Regions from separate parts of the Homo sapiens genome. Here all the other regions are linked to region 3. The links are contacts of gene promoters, found by promoter capture Hi-C in human tissues and cell types (Jung and others, 2019). All regions are on one chromosome and are shown on one strand. The core of a region is centred on a gene start or on the middle of the fragment in contact, and the rest is flanking DNA. Distances in the headings are between cores, read along the strand shown. Region 1 overlaps ACER3 (alkaline ceramidase 3). Region 2 overlaps ACER3 (alkaline ceramidase 3). Region 3 holds the start of TSKU (tsukushi, small leucine rich proteoglycan).

Region 1 (4,041 bases), core at 1,147-3,646, 110 kb before region 3:
TGCCCGCCTTAGCTTCCCAAAGTGCTGAGATTACAGGCGTGAGCCACCAGGCCCACCCCACTAGTTTTTTTTATGCCCCTTAACTATGGCATAGGAGGACAAAAATGAAGAATAAAACTTCACGAAAGGTTCTGATGCAACTCTGGAAGCATGGGCTTTTGTACAACAGTAAGGATCCAATGAATAGTACCTGTGTAAAGATGTTTCAAGAATTTGAACAGTTGAAATAATCCCTTTTCAGAATCCCTTTCATATCCAAACAGCAAAGAAGTTTTCCTATTCTAACAAGCAAAAATTTAAAGGGGCAATAATTAAAAATTAGTTTAAAATTAGGTGTTCCAAAATGGTTCCAGATATGGGAACCTTTTTATTGCATAACTCCAGGGTTTTCCCAGGTCTTAGTTGGTGATTATGGTTGTCCAGTAAAACAACAAACTGGAAATATAAAGAGGAAAGAACAGGGGGACTAAGAGAAATGGACCCAGAGCCCTGAATTATGTTTTCAGTATATATAATTTCAATCCTTTTGTTGGCTATATAGTATTCTATTATAAGGCCACATCATATTTCATTTACAAAATTGTCTATTAAGCAACATTTAGCTTATTTCCAATTTTTACTGTCAGCCAATGCTATAATAAACAATGTACAAAAAAATCTTTCGTGAATATTAAAAAAACATTTTTTACTTATGGCAGGCTGCTTGCAGTTTCATCTTCACACATAGGTACTTGTTTTCTTTTCTCTGCCCTTAAGGGTGCTTCGGTGGAAAAATTTAAGAAGCAGTGACCTAATCAATTTTCCTCATTTTGCAAATGAGGGAAATAGAGAAGCTAAAAAGTCAACTAGCTTGTCTACATGTATACAGTAAGCATCAGAAGCAGACTCAAACCAGAGTGTCCTGATTGTAGGTTAAATACTTCCTTCCTCAGCCCTATTATATCTCTCTTTCTACTTTTTCTCTTCCTGGTACCAGAGAATACATTTAAAAATTATTTCCTTCTGCTCGTGGCCCTAAACAAAAATACAAAGTCTTTATATGTTGTGCAGTGTTTCCTGCTAGTGACATAGAGAACCTGGGTACAAGGGGAATGAAGAAAGTGGAACCATAATTGAGGCAAATATGAAGTTACATAAAATCATTAAAACAATATGATATTGAGATATAGAAGAGATATCAATAAAACAGGCTAGAAAGTTCAAATATCTGCCCAAAAACATATGGGATTTAGTATATAATAATGTTGACATTTCAAATCATTAATAGTAGAAAGGAAGTATTCAGTAAATGGTATTGAGGCAACTGGGTAAAAATTATCTTGAGATCAATTAAATTGAATCCTTTCTCCACATTATACACTAGGCTATATTCCAAATATATTTTAAAATATATAATAATAAAGTATTAAAACTACTGGGGGAAAAAACACTCCATGACCACTGCAACATAAAATACCTCATTGGGAATTTCTGCCTTGAGCTATCCTGAAGCCAAAATTTATCAGACAGATCTTGGTGATTCAATCCAGAGATGAAGCAGGCCTCCATGCAGATTAAGATCCTAAGGGAGTTTGCTCCTTGATTATCTTGCATACCCTCAATGCTTGCCTGTCCTCTTCCTTCTTTTGTTATACTGTTTCCTTTGCCTTTAAATGAAATATTCTCTAAGGAGACTTTCAGTCCTTTCAAATATCCAAACTTGTGACATCTTTGCAATATTTTCCATACACTTTCATGAATGTAAAAAATCAGTCATATGGCCCAGCTCATATTCTTGTCAAAAACTTCTACATTTTATGCCACTTTATGGTTTATAAATATATCCATTAACATTTAATTCCCAAAGTAACCTTGTAAGGGAGTAGTCTCACTATTTACTAGAGAAACTGAGGCTCCAAAGATTAAATGACTTACCAACAGCTGCTCAACCAGTAAGAGGCAGAAATGGATTAAAACCTAAGTCTAAGCATATTAATTATACTATGTGGCCTCCAATTTTTGTGACAATTACATGTCTATGATATACCTACAGTAAATTTGAGAGTTTAAGGTAATACCATTGAATCCTGACGAGGCTTATTGAAAGAAAGACACAATGGTATCTGCATTTATCTAATTATTAAAGAGGTAACTTAGTTTTGTATTTGTTTGTTTTTGAGACAGGGTCTAGCTCTGTCTCCAAGGCTTGAGTGCAGTGGCATAACCACGGCTCACTACAGCCTCGATCTCCTGGGCTCAAGTGATCCTCCTACCTCAGCCTCCTGAGTAGCTGGGACTAAAGGAGTGTACCACCACGCCCAGCTAATTTTGTAATTTTTTGTAGAGACAGGGTCTTGAACTGGTCTTGAACTCTTGGGCTCAAGCGATCCTTCCACCTCAGCCTCCCAAAGTGCTGGAATTATAGGCATGAGCCACCGTGCCTGGCTGGTAATTTAGTTTTTAACAGCAATATATAATGCTGATGCCAAGAAGTTGAACATATTCATTCCTTCACTCCACAAATGAATGAACACCTATGGTGGGGCTTAGGCACTGCATTAGGTAAAGCTCACAGTTTTAGTTAAAATAACAGACATTTTAAAGCAGAAAAACAAATAACTTTTCAGTTCATGGATTAAAAAAAGGTAGTTTGAATTTAATTGCATTATCTGATGTTACAAATTCTTAAGAAAGCCATTAACCAAAATGTATATGGTAGTTTAGAGTGTATGAAATCATTACATTGTCTAATTTGATCCTCAAAACAAATCTATGAAGTATTTTCTCTCTCTCTCTGTTTTTTGAGATAGGATCTCGCTATGTTGCCCAGGCTGGTCTCAAACTTCTGGGCTCAAGCATTCCTTTGCCTCAGCCTTCCTGGTAGCTGGGATTACAAGCACGAGCTACTACATCCACCCTATGAGGTATTTTCAATCCAATTTGACAGCTAAGGAAGGTGAAAATCAAAATTAAGTAGTTTGTATAAATATATATAAGATCACACAGCCTGTAAATGGCAAAGTCATGATTCAAATATAAGGATATTGATTATAAAATTTATTTTCTTTTACTTATTTATTTTTTTAGAGATGGGGTCTTGCTTGGTCACCCAGGCTGGAGTAGAGTGGCGTGATCATAGCTCCCTGCAGCCTTGAACTCCTGGGCTCAAGTGATCCTCCTGCTTCAGCCTTCCAACTGGCTGGGACTACAGGCACGTGTCACTATGCCCAGCTAGTACTGTCATTTTAGCAATATTAATTCTTCTGATTCATGAGCGTGGGATGTCTTTCCATTTGTTTGTATCCTCATCAATTTCTTTCATCAGCATTCTGTAGTATTCCTCACAGAGGTCTTCTACCTCCTTAAATTTATTCCTATGTAATTTTTTGTAGCTAATATAAACGAGGTTGCATTCTTGATTTATTTTCAAGCTAGTTCACTGTTTGTGTATAGAGATGCTAATTTTTGTATATTAATTTTATATCCTGCAACTTTACTGAATTTATTGATCAGTTCTAAAAGGCTTTCGGTAGAGTCTTCAGGTTTTTCTATATAAAGGTCACGTCATCCACAAACAGGGACAATTTGACCTCCTCCTTGTCAATTTGGATGCTTTTAATTCCTTTCTTTCTCGTGACAAATTGCTCTGGCTAAGACTTTCTGAATTTATTTAATTTAACTTAATTTCTTAAACAGTGTTTCTTATATCAAGTTCCTCAGCAGTAAGACAAAAATTAGACTAGAAAATAAAAGTTTTAAAATTTAAAAAAAATTCCCAAATCTCTCAAATGAATTATGCTAGTTCTACCAGAATCCTTTGGGCCAAGTTCTACTGGAACAAGATATTATTTTCTAGGGTACTCACTGAGCGAGTGTCAGCTTTTAAAGGTCTGAAAAAAACTGCTTTAAAGAAAACCAGAGAAAATGGGGTCAGTCAGCCAAGACAAGTGTGCCACAGCAGCAAACAGAGGTTTCTCTGTGATCCAACTAAAATAGCAGTGTTGTTAAACCCCCACACACATATAACTGGAATATTTGCATGGTCTTTCCTATTAAGCTTCA
Region 2 (3,998 bases), core at 432-2,931, 94 kb before region 3:
TTCAACTTCATGCATAATAGCCAAAAACTGGGAACAGCCCAGGTATCTGTCAATAGGAAAACAGATAAACTATTACATTCATACAGTGGGATACCACTCAGCAATCAAAAGAAACATACTACTGATACAACACATAGAAAAATCTCATTTCTCAAAAATACGAATCTTAAATGGATTAATAAAGATTTAACTTTTTTCAGTTTTAACTTCTAATACAGTAAATACCAATAGATTTAACTCACAGAGCTCTTTGGGGTCTTCAATAATTTTTAAATGTGTAAAGGGGTCATGAGACCAAAAAATTCGAGAATTTCTATTAGGTCATTGCAAAAGTAATTGAGGGTTTTGCCATTGAAAGTAATGGCAAAAACCGCAATTACTTTTGCACCAACCTAATAGTTAAAGTTGAATATGAGCATGACCTATATTCTAACAATTACACTCCTAAGTATACACAGAAACCCTTACATTTCTGTGTACCAGAAGATGCACAAGAATGTTCACAGCAGCCTTATCTGTAACAGCAAAAACCTGGAAACAACAAAATGTCCAATGATTAAAGAATGGATAAATGAATGTATTCATACAGTGGAATTCTAAACAACAGCAAAAATAAATGAATTATATCTACATCCATCAACACAGTCAATTCTCAGGAGCATGAATGATACTAATAAGCACAATTTGTGTTTAAAAAAAAAAAGCAAGCTGTGGAAGAATGTACATATAGTACAATTCCACTTATATAAAATATAAAACAAGCAAACCTGAACAGTTTATTTTTAGGAATGCAAAGTGGTAAAAGCTAGGAAATGATAAACACTAAATTAAGTATACTGGTTATCTCCAGAGGAAAAGGAAGAAGATGGGATCAGGGAAGGACACAGAGGGTGCTAAATGTTTCTTCAATGATGACTGCTCTTAACCAAAGGACTGTCCTCCTTTATCAAGGTCATAATTCTCTTCATTTGTCAACCTTTAGGTTGGACTTTCTGAACACAAAACAGCCATCTGATTGACAAGATTAATTAGATCAACTCTAGTGATCAATGGGATTTCAGGAGACAAAGACAGATTGCCCTCATATCTGCTTAAAAAAAGAAATGGGGGGGAAAAAAAGGAAAAATTGCTACTCAGAAGGTGAAATAGCTTAGAAACCATAATGTTTCATTTCAGGAAAAGTATCTTATCTAGAATCTCTCCTTATCATTTTGTATAAATGAATAAGTGAGTGAAGATCATAAAAACACAGCTTTTATAGCAGCATCAAGATTTTAACATGCATAGTTTTGGAGTTCTGACTCTAGCCAGTCCTTCTACTTGCTGTTAAAAGCTGCATGCTCTGAAAAGTTAAAGAACATATGTTAGAGCGAGAGTCTACACCTATGATGAGTCAAAGATTTTTTTTCCAGCTTCAAAACTGAATTATTTCAACCCTGAGGTACTTACTTGCTTTCATTGGGTAAAATAACTCTTTGGAGTCTTGAGTACATTGCAGGTATAAATAAAATGATGCTTATAAAATTTTTTGAAATCTTCAGATGGGCTTATAAAAGTACTAATCTTTATTCTTTAGTCTCATCTTCTAAGAATAAAAGGCATGGTATAATATGACATACTCTGAGTTTTCACAACAGAAAATCAAAATTTCTCAAAACTCAACTTCAGACACAGTTTTCAGTTATTTATTGCTGAATAACCATCACAAACTTCATGATTTTAAAACAAATTTATTATTACCTCTCATGGGAACAATATGAACAATAAAAAGTGCACAGGGTATTAATGTATATGTAAATAGCTTGTTTTGGCAAGACTGAAATGTAAGTAGGGCAAGGAAACGAAAGAAGACAAGAGTTAAAAATAAACTGGATAGCACAATGAGATACAACCACACATCCACCAGAATGACTAAAATTTGAAAAATTGACACTAAATGTTGACAAGGATGTGGATCAAATGCTCTGTGTGTAAAATGGTACAACCACTTTGGGAAAAGGTCTAGCAGTATCTAATAAAACTAAACATACACATACTCTATGACCCAATTATTCCAATCCTAAGCATTTACCTATGAGAAACGAAAATATATATCCACAAAATGATCTGCCCAAGAATGTTTATAGCAGCTTTACTTATAATTGTCCACACCTAAAAACAGCCATGTGTCCATCAACAGGAAAATGGGTTAATAAACTGGTATATTCATACAGTGGAATCCTACCACATAGCAATATGGATGAATCTCAAAAACATGCTGAACAAAAGAAGCCTTACCCGAAATAGTAAATACTAGACAAGTCCATTTCTATGCAGTTCTAGAACAGGCAAACCTAATCTATGGTAGGGAAAAAAAAAAAATCAGAACAGTGGTTGTGCTGGAAAGAAGGGGTAAGATGGAGGTGGGGATTAACAGAGAAGGGGCATGAGGGAACTTTCCTGGCTGATGGTAAAGTTCCACATCTTGATAGAGGTTGTTACATAGGTGTATGCATTTCTCAAAATCCAGCAAAAATAACTTAAGATTTGTGTATTACAGGCTGGGCGTGGTGGCTCATGCCTGTAATCCCAGCACTTTGGGAGGCTGAGGTGGGTGGATCACCTGAGGTCAGGAGTTCAAGACCATCCTGGCCAATATGGTGAAACCATGTCTCTACAAAAAAATGAAAAAATTAACTGGGTGTGGTGGCACGTGCCTGTAATCCCCTGTCTCTACTAATAATACAAAAATTAGCCGGGTGTGGTGGTGCTCTCCTATAATCCCAGCTACTTGGGAAGCTGAGGCAGGAGAATCGTTTGAACCTGGGACGGGGAGGTTGCAGTGAGCTGAGATCATGCCACTGCACTCCAGCCTCGGCAACACAGTGAGACTCCACAAAAAAAAAAAAAAAAAAAAAAAACAACAAAAACTGTGTATTACATTGAATGTAAATTTTACATCAAAAGAAAAAAAAAACAAGGAATTAAACTTTAATGATATGCTTTAGTATTTAGAGGAAAGCAAACAGATGTCTGCAGTTTACTTCGAAATGTATCAAAAAATAAAATGAACTGATGGATGGAGAAAGGAATGGAAAAATGAATCGGTATGTGATAAAAACAAGTGTAATAAAATGTTAATGGTAGAATTGAGATAGTGGGTGAATGGATATTCACTGAAGAATTCTTCCAACTTTGTTGTATGCATAAAAATTTCATCTTAAAAAAATGAAATGTTGGCCGGGCGCGGTGGCTCACGCCTTTATGTAATCCCAGCACTTTGGGAGGCTGAGGTGGATGGATCACGAGGTAAGGAGATCGAGACCAGTCTGGCCAACATAGTGAAACCCCATCTCTACTAAAAATACGAAAATTAGCCCGGTGTAGTGGCCTGCGCCTGTAATCCCAGCTACTAGGGAGGCTGAGGCACAAGAATCACTTGAACCCAGGAGGTGGAGGTTGCACTGAGCCAAGATCTCACCACTGCACTCCAGCCTGGCAACAGAGTGAGATTCCATCTAAAAAAAAAAAAAAAAAAAAAAAAAAGAAGTGCTTTTCATGCCATGTTAGAATTTGGTCTTTATGCTTTAGTCAATAGAAAGTCCTCAAAGGGAAACAGAAAAAGCACCTAATTCTCTAAGAAGTAATCAGTCAAGATTTAAAGAGATATCCACTGACTCAGAGAATGCAGTTACAAATGACAAACGACAAGCCAACAGCATGTGCAAAAGCATCAGCTTAAGGATATGTGACATATAGATAATCTAATTGAACCTCCCACAGAAAACATCTAAAAATCCTGAATTTAAAAACAAATCAAAGAAGAAAGAAGGGAGGGAGAAAAGGAGAAATGGAAAGTCCACCAAAGTAAGGAATCAAGTAGACCTCCCAAAATAAAGCTTTAACTGCCCCCGTCCCCACCTCCCACACCCTAGAAACTCAGGCAGGAGCTGATGCTGCAAACTTAAGGCAGAATTTCTTATCCTGGAAACCTTAGCTTTTGCACTTAATGCCTTTTA
Region 3 (4,357 bases), core at 141-2,640:
CCTCCGGTCAGCCCCAGGCACTGCAAGTCTAGACTTATCCGAAGGGCAGGGCGCACAAAGATGAAAGAAGAATCGAAGGTCTTGAGTCACCTCCTCGCCAGGCCAAGTGTGGGCTGGCGCTGCTCTCCGCCCGGCTCCAGAGGCGCGGGTTATTCCCACCGCACGCCCCGAGCCGCGAGGGAGTTCTCGCCCTGTCCGTGCCAGAGTGACCGCGACTCCGCGAAGCTGAGCAACTTGCCAGCGCCGCACAGGGGCCAGTGGCCGTCCCAGTTGAAACCTGTGTATGTGAGGCTCCCACGGCCCCCAGCCCAGCTCCGGGTCCTGTGAGCCGGCGCCTCGGGCATGCCCAGATCTGGACTGGCAGTCCCCCTCTCCCCTACCGGGTCCGAGGGTTGGCCCCCTACCCCGGGGGCGGGCTGCAAACGGAGAGTGGGTCTCAAAGCGGAGCCTGTCTCCCTACCAAACAGACGCAACTCTGGATCACACTCTTTCCAAGAAGCGCGGGGAGGGCAACGCCAGCCGCCCTGTCCCTTCCTCTCCCCAGCCCAGGGCCGGAGCCTGGGACCCACCGCTCGCCTCTTCCTCCCAGCCGGGGTCTGAGGGGGAGTCCGCACGCTCCGCCCAGCCCCTGCCCAGCCAGTCCCCAGGCGCTGCCGATCCCCCGACCACCAATCCCGTCGCAGCCCCTTGCTGTCCTGGGACCTCAGGAGGGGGAGGGGGAGGGCTGTCTGCGCCCCCGGCCGGGTAGCGGTGGGGAGGACTGGGGCTGTTGCCCGAGGAACCGGGAGAAAAGTTTGGAGCCAAGTCGTGGGCCCGAGGGGACGGCGGGGGAGCGGGGGGGTGGGGCGGCGTTGGGCTCTCGGTGCGCACACCCTCTGCGGACACCCAGCCCAGACACGTCGGCAGGCACCGACCACGTACGCGGAGACACGCGATGCGCCCACCGACGCCCACAGCCAAGCGCAGGCCCGCAAACGTGGACACGGGCGCAAAGCAGCCGCGCAAAGCCACGGACACACAAAGGCACCGACAGCGGCGCGTCCCCGACCGCAAATCCACAAAGACCCACAAACGTGAGATGCACGTGTCCGCACAAAGACCCACACGGCCCCTGGGCGTAGCCTTTGTCTCCCGCAAGACCTCTCCCCTGGGTCGGCGTTCCCCACTCCCGCCCAGCCCTAGGCGTCCGACGAAAGTTGAGGGGCCTCGGCGGGACCCAGCCCCGCCCCTGCGCCCGGCGTCCCCAGCCCGCCCTCCGAAGGGGCCGCGAGGCTAGGATCGGGGACTTGGGATCTTCAACCGCAGCGCGGACTCTCGCCCCGCCCGGGGAACTGCACTCACCTGGAAGCCTGCGCCACAGCCGCCTCGGCACGCTCACCCCGGCGGCCCGGCCGCGGGCCCTCCGGCCAGCGCTTTTCTCCGCGCGGCGCGGCCCGCCCCCCGGTCCCCGCCCGCAGCCAGGCTCCCCCCTGCCGGGCGCCGGGTGGCGGCTCGGGCCGGCCGCGGGGCGGCTCAGGGAGTGTCGCCAAAGTGCCAGCCTCTCTCGGCGCGCGCCCCGCCCGCGGAGCCTGAGCCGAGCCCGGGTTCCACTCTAGGGAGCGTCTCAAAAGTGCGCTGCTCCCGCCCCCTCTAGTTGGCCTCGCTCACAGCTTCCTGCATCCCGGATCCCTGCCCCCTCCCCCTGCGCGCCCCAGCAATCTAAGCAGATGGCCGCACTGTCGGGAACATCTGGAGGTCGCCGGAGTACGTGCCTGTGTATGTGTATGTGTGTGTATGACTGTGTGTGTGGAAAGAGAGAGGGAATTAGTTGCTAGTAAGAAAGAGATTTGGTGGGTGGGTGAGGGCTTCCTCTTTGCTTGTTCACCGCCCCTCCCCATTTTTTTTTAAAGAGTGAAAGAGGTTCAGGGACTACCGGGAGCAAGAAACCAAGAATCTGAAGCAGAGAAAGACTGGCTGAAAGACGAACCCACAGAGAAGAGAGAGCCCGGCTCGGGCAGAAAAGCTGGCAGGAGAGGAGAGAGAAAGTCAACAGATTGAGTTTTTCTTTTAGGAGGAAACCATTGGCTTCTGGTTAGAGTTCTAAGAAGGGAAACTGGCGTGTGAGTAGGCAGCAGTTTCAGTCTATTCCCCCTGCTGTAGCTCTTGGGCTCTCACCCCTCTTTATGTTAAAAAAAAAAAAAAAGGGCAGGAAAGCATCCAAGACACTTTAAAATGAGGGTTTGCAGGAGAAATGACCTGGTGGACGCATTTCCTAGGAGGGGAGAGTCAGGTGTGTGGGTGGCTCCCAGTCTACACACCCCGACAATGCCTACCTTGGGAGAGGGGCAGTTCACAGGTGGGAGAGTTGATAGAGGCTTTGGTCTTGGGCCCTGGACCTCCCAGGAGCTTCTCCTAGACTTTGGAGGGCCTCGGGGTGCAGAAATTGGGCAATGTACCTCCTGCAGTGGCCCAGACTTGTTAACACACCCAGTCTGCTTGCTGCTTCTTTCCTTATTACTTTTTCTTATTCATTAAAAAAAAAAAAAAAAAAAGGAGTTGCTTGGGCCTGTGTGTGCATGCATGCCGGTCTACTTGGGGAAGAAGGAAGACACTAGAGAGGTGGTGAGGTAGGAGTGGAGACCACTGCCCCAGGCCTCAGGCCAGCAAAATCATCTGCTGCCCAGAAAACAAACTGGTCTTGCAGGTCCTTTCTGCACTCAGAGCCATTGTGTGGTCTTGGGGATGCACTTGGGTTGACACCTGTGGACCCTGCCAGTTAGGAATGTGCAGAGAAAAGGCTAGGAGCCTGGTCTCATATGTGTGGAAGCAGGGAGAACTCCCGTCTCTCCTCTCCATTCATTGTCCTCTCCTGATTAGAATCCCAGCTTTCAGAACTAGGAGTCCTTCTGTGATCATCCAGCTCACACTCCTTATCAGTCTTTGGGATGGCACCATGGGCCCTTTGGTATCCAGTGTCTTCCTCACTGTTGGGCTTAAAAGGGCTGCAGGGATTCAACTCCACAACCCCTGGGACCCATAGAGAGGAGTCGGGCCCCTCCCATTTCCCACCCTCCCATTCCCTCCCCTCTCTAAAGGCTCCTGGCCTAGATGGGAGAGAGACCTGCAATCAGCATCGGGTGAGGGCCAAGCTTGGTCAGGATTCAGGTTCCAGCCCTGCCACTTACCAGCTCTGGGTAACTTTAGGCAAGTTACCTAACCTCTCTGAGACTCAGTGTCTGCAACTGTAGAAGAGGCTATTGTGAGGAATAAACAAGGTAATTTAGGTAAAGCATTAGTCTGGCTCACAGGAAGCTCCTTTGTGTGGTTGCTAAATGTCTTCCGTCAGGGACTGGGGTAGAGACTGGAAAGCCCAGCAGGCTTGGGAGGGGAGGGTGCCCGGGAATGACCTCTGGACTCCCTGGCTTGTCTAGCTTATATTCCTCCTGCTTCCTCCCCTCCCATAGGGACATTCTTTTGAAGGAATGGCGCCCCCCTCCCCTTGCCCTAGACTAACGATTTCCATCCTCTCCTCCATGTGGAATTGTTTAGCGAGTCTCAAGTTCAGCATCTGAGAACTGGAGATGAAAATACCCAACTGCCCGGGAACTCAGGGAAGCTAACTCCCACTGCACTGTGTGTGCAGGTTCTAGCCAGCTGGGCTGGAGGCTCCAGGCCTCACATTTAACATAAAAGTAATCAACAACCCTTCACACTGGCTGGTAGCTGGCAGCAGTTTCTGAGCACTTTCACATTCATCATTTCCCTTGACCTCCCCTTAGGGAGAGGTGGCCTTGAGGGGCTTCAGCTGGTGGATCTCCATGAACTTTACCCACCTCCCCTCATCACTGTGCCTCCAGTTGAGAGTCTCTGTGCCTCTAGACTCTCCTCTTCTGTCTGCTGTCCACATTCCAGCAAGAGTGCCCTTTCTAAACTGCAGATCTGCAGAATGGATCATGACACTTGCCTGCTTAAAACCTTTCAATGGCAAAAGCCAAACTGCTTGGTGTGGCATTCAAGGCCTATGTGATATGCCCCCACCTCACCTTAACTCTCCAGCATCAGTTCTGGCCACCCCCTCTTACACATCCCAAGTTTTAGTCCCCTAGTCACCTAGAAGTAAGGGAAGGGAGGTGGACCTTCTCCATTCTTCATGTCTGTTCAGTGTCTTCGCCCCCAGGGAGTCCTCTCTCTGGCGAAGTTGGCCTCTCCATCTGTGATATTGCCATGTCCTTTGTATATAAGCACCATCATTTTCACCGTTCTCTTCCCCTTCTTGTGATCATCTTGGCCACTGTGACATGTCAGGGACTGTGCTGGATACTTTTAAGATCATGATTTAATCCAAACAACCACACTAGATGGATAGTGGTGCGGCCCA

What was found. Contacts are between HindIII fragments. The study calls those that stand out against the background at their distance.
Region 1: a fragment that was not itself captured here is called in contact with the fragment with the promoter of TSKU in region 3 in 2 of the 25 tissues and cell types used here (spleen and thymus).
Region 2: a contact is called between a fragment that was not itself captured here and the fragment with the promoter of TSKU in region 3, in 2 of the 25 tissues and cell types used here (dorsolateral prefrontal cortex and mesendoderm cells).

The regions. Positions count from the first base shown.
Region 1 is chr11:76,892,394-76,896,434 of GRCh38, reverse strand. The region is part of intron 1 of ACER3 (alkaline ceramidase 3); the gene reads right to left. Among named protein-coding and RNA genes, the nearest start is that of ACER3, 33 kb to the right of the region's middle. The HindIII fragment of the contact is 4,899 bases long and covers 1-4,041 here.
Region 2 is chr11:76,874,635-76,878,632 of GRCh38, reverse strand. All of the region lies in intron 1 of ACER3 (alkaline ceramidase 3), which reads right to left. Among named protein-coding and RNA genes, the nearest start is that of ACER3, 16 kb to the right of the region's middle. The HindIII fragment of the contact is 5,570 bases long and covers 1-3,998 here.
Region 3 is chr11:76,780,389-76,784,745 of GRCh38, reverse strand. It overlaps TSKU (tsukushi, small leucine rich proteoglycan), which reads right to left and starts at 1,390. Exons shown (of 2, transcript NM_015516.4): 1 at 1,342-1,390. It overlaps TSKU-AS1 (TSKU antisense RNA 1), which reads left to right and starts at 1,684. Exons shown (of 2, transcript NR_120562.1): 1 at 1,684-1,743; 2 at 1,890-2,165. RefSeq lists a silencer at 1,444-1,533 and enhancers at 1,085-1,729, 1,964-2,153. The HindIII fragment of the contact is 14,629 bases long and covers 1-4,357 here.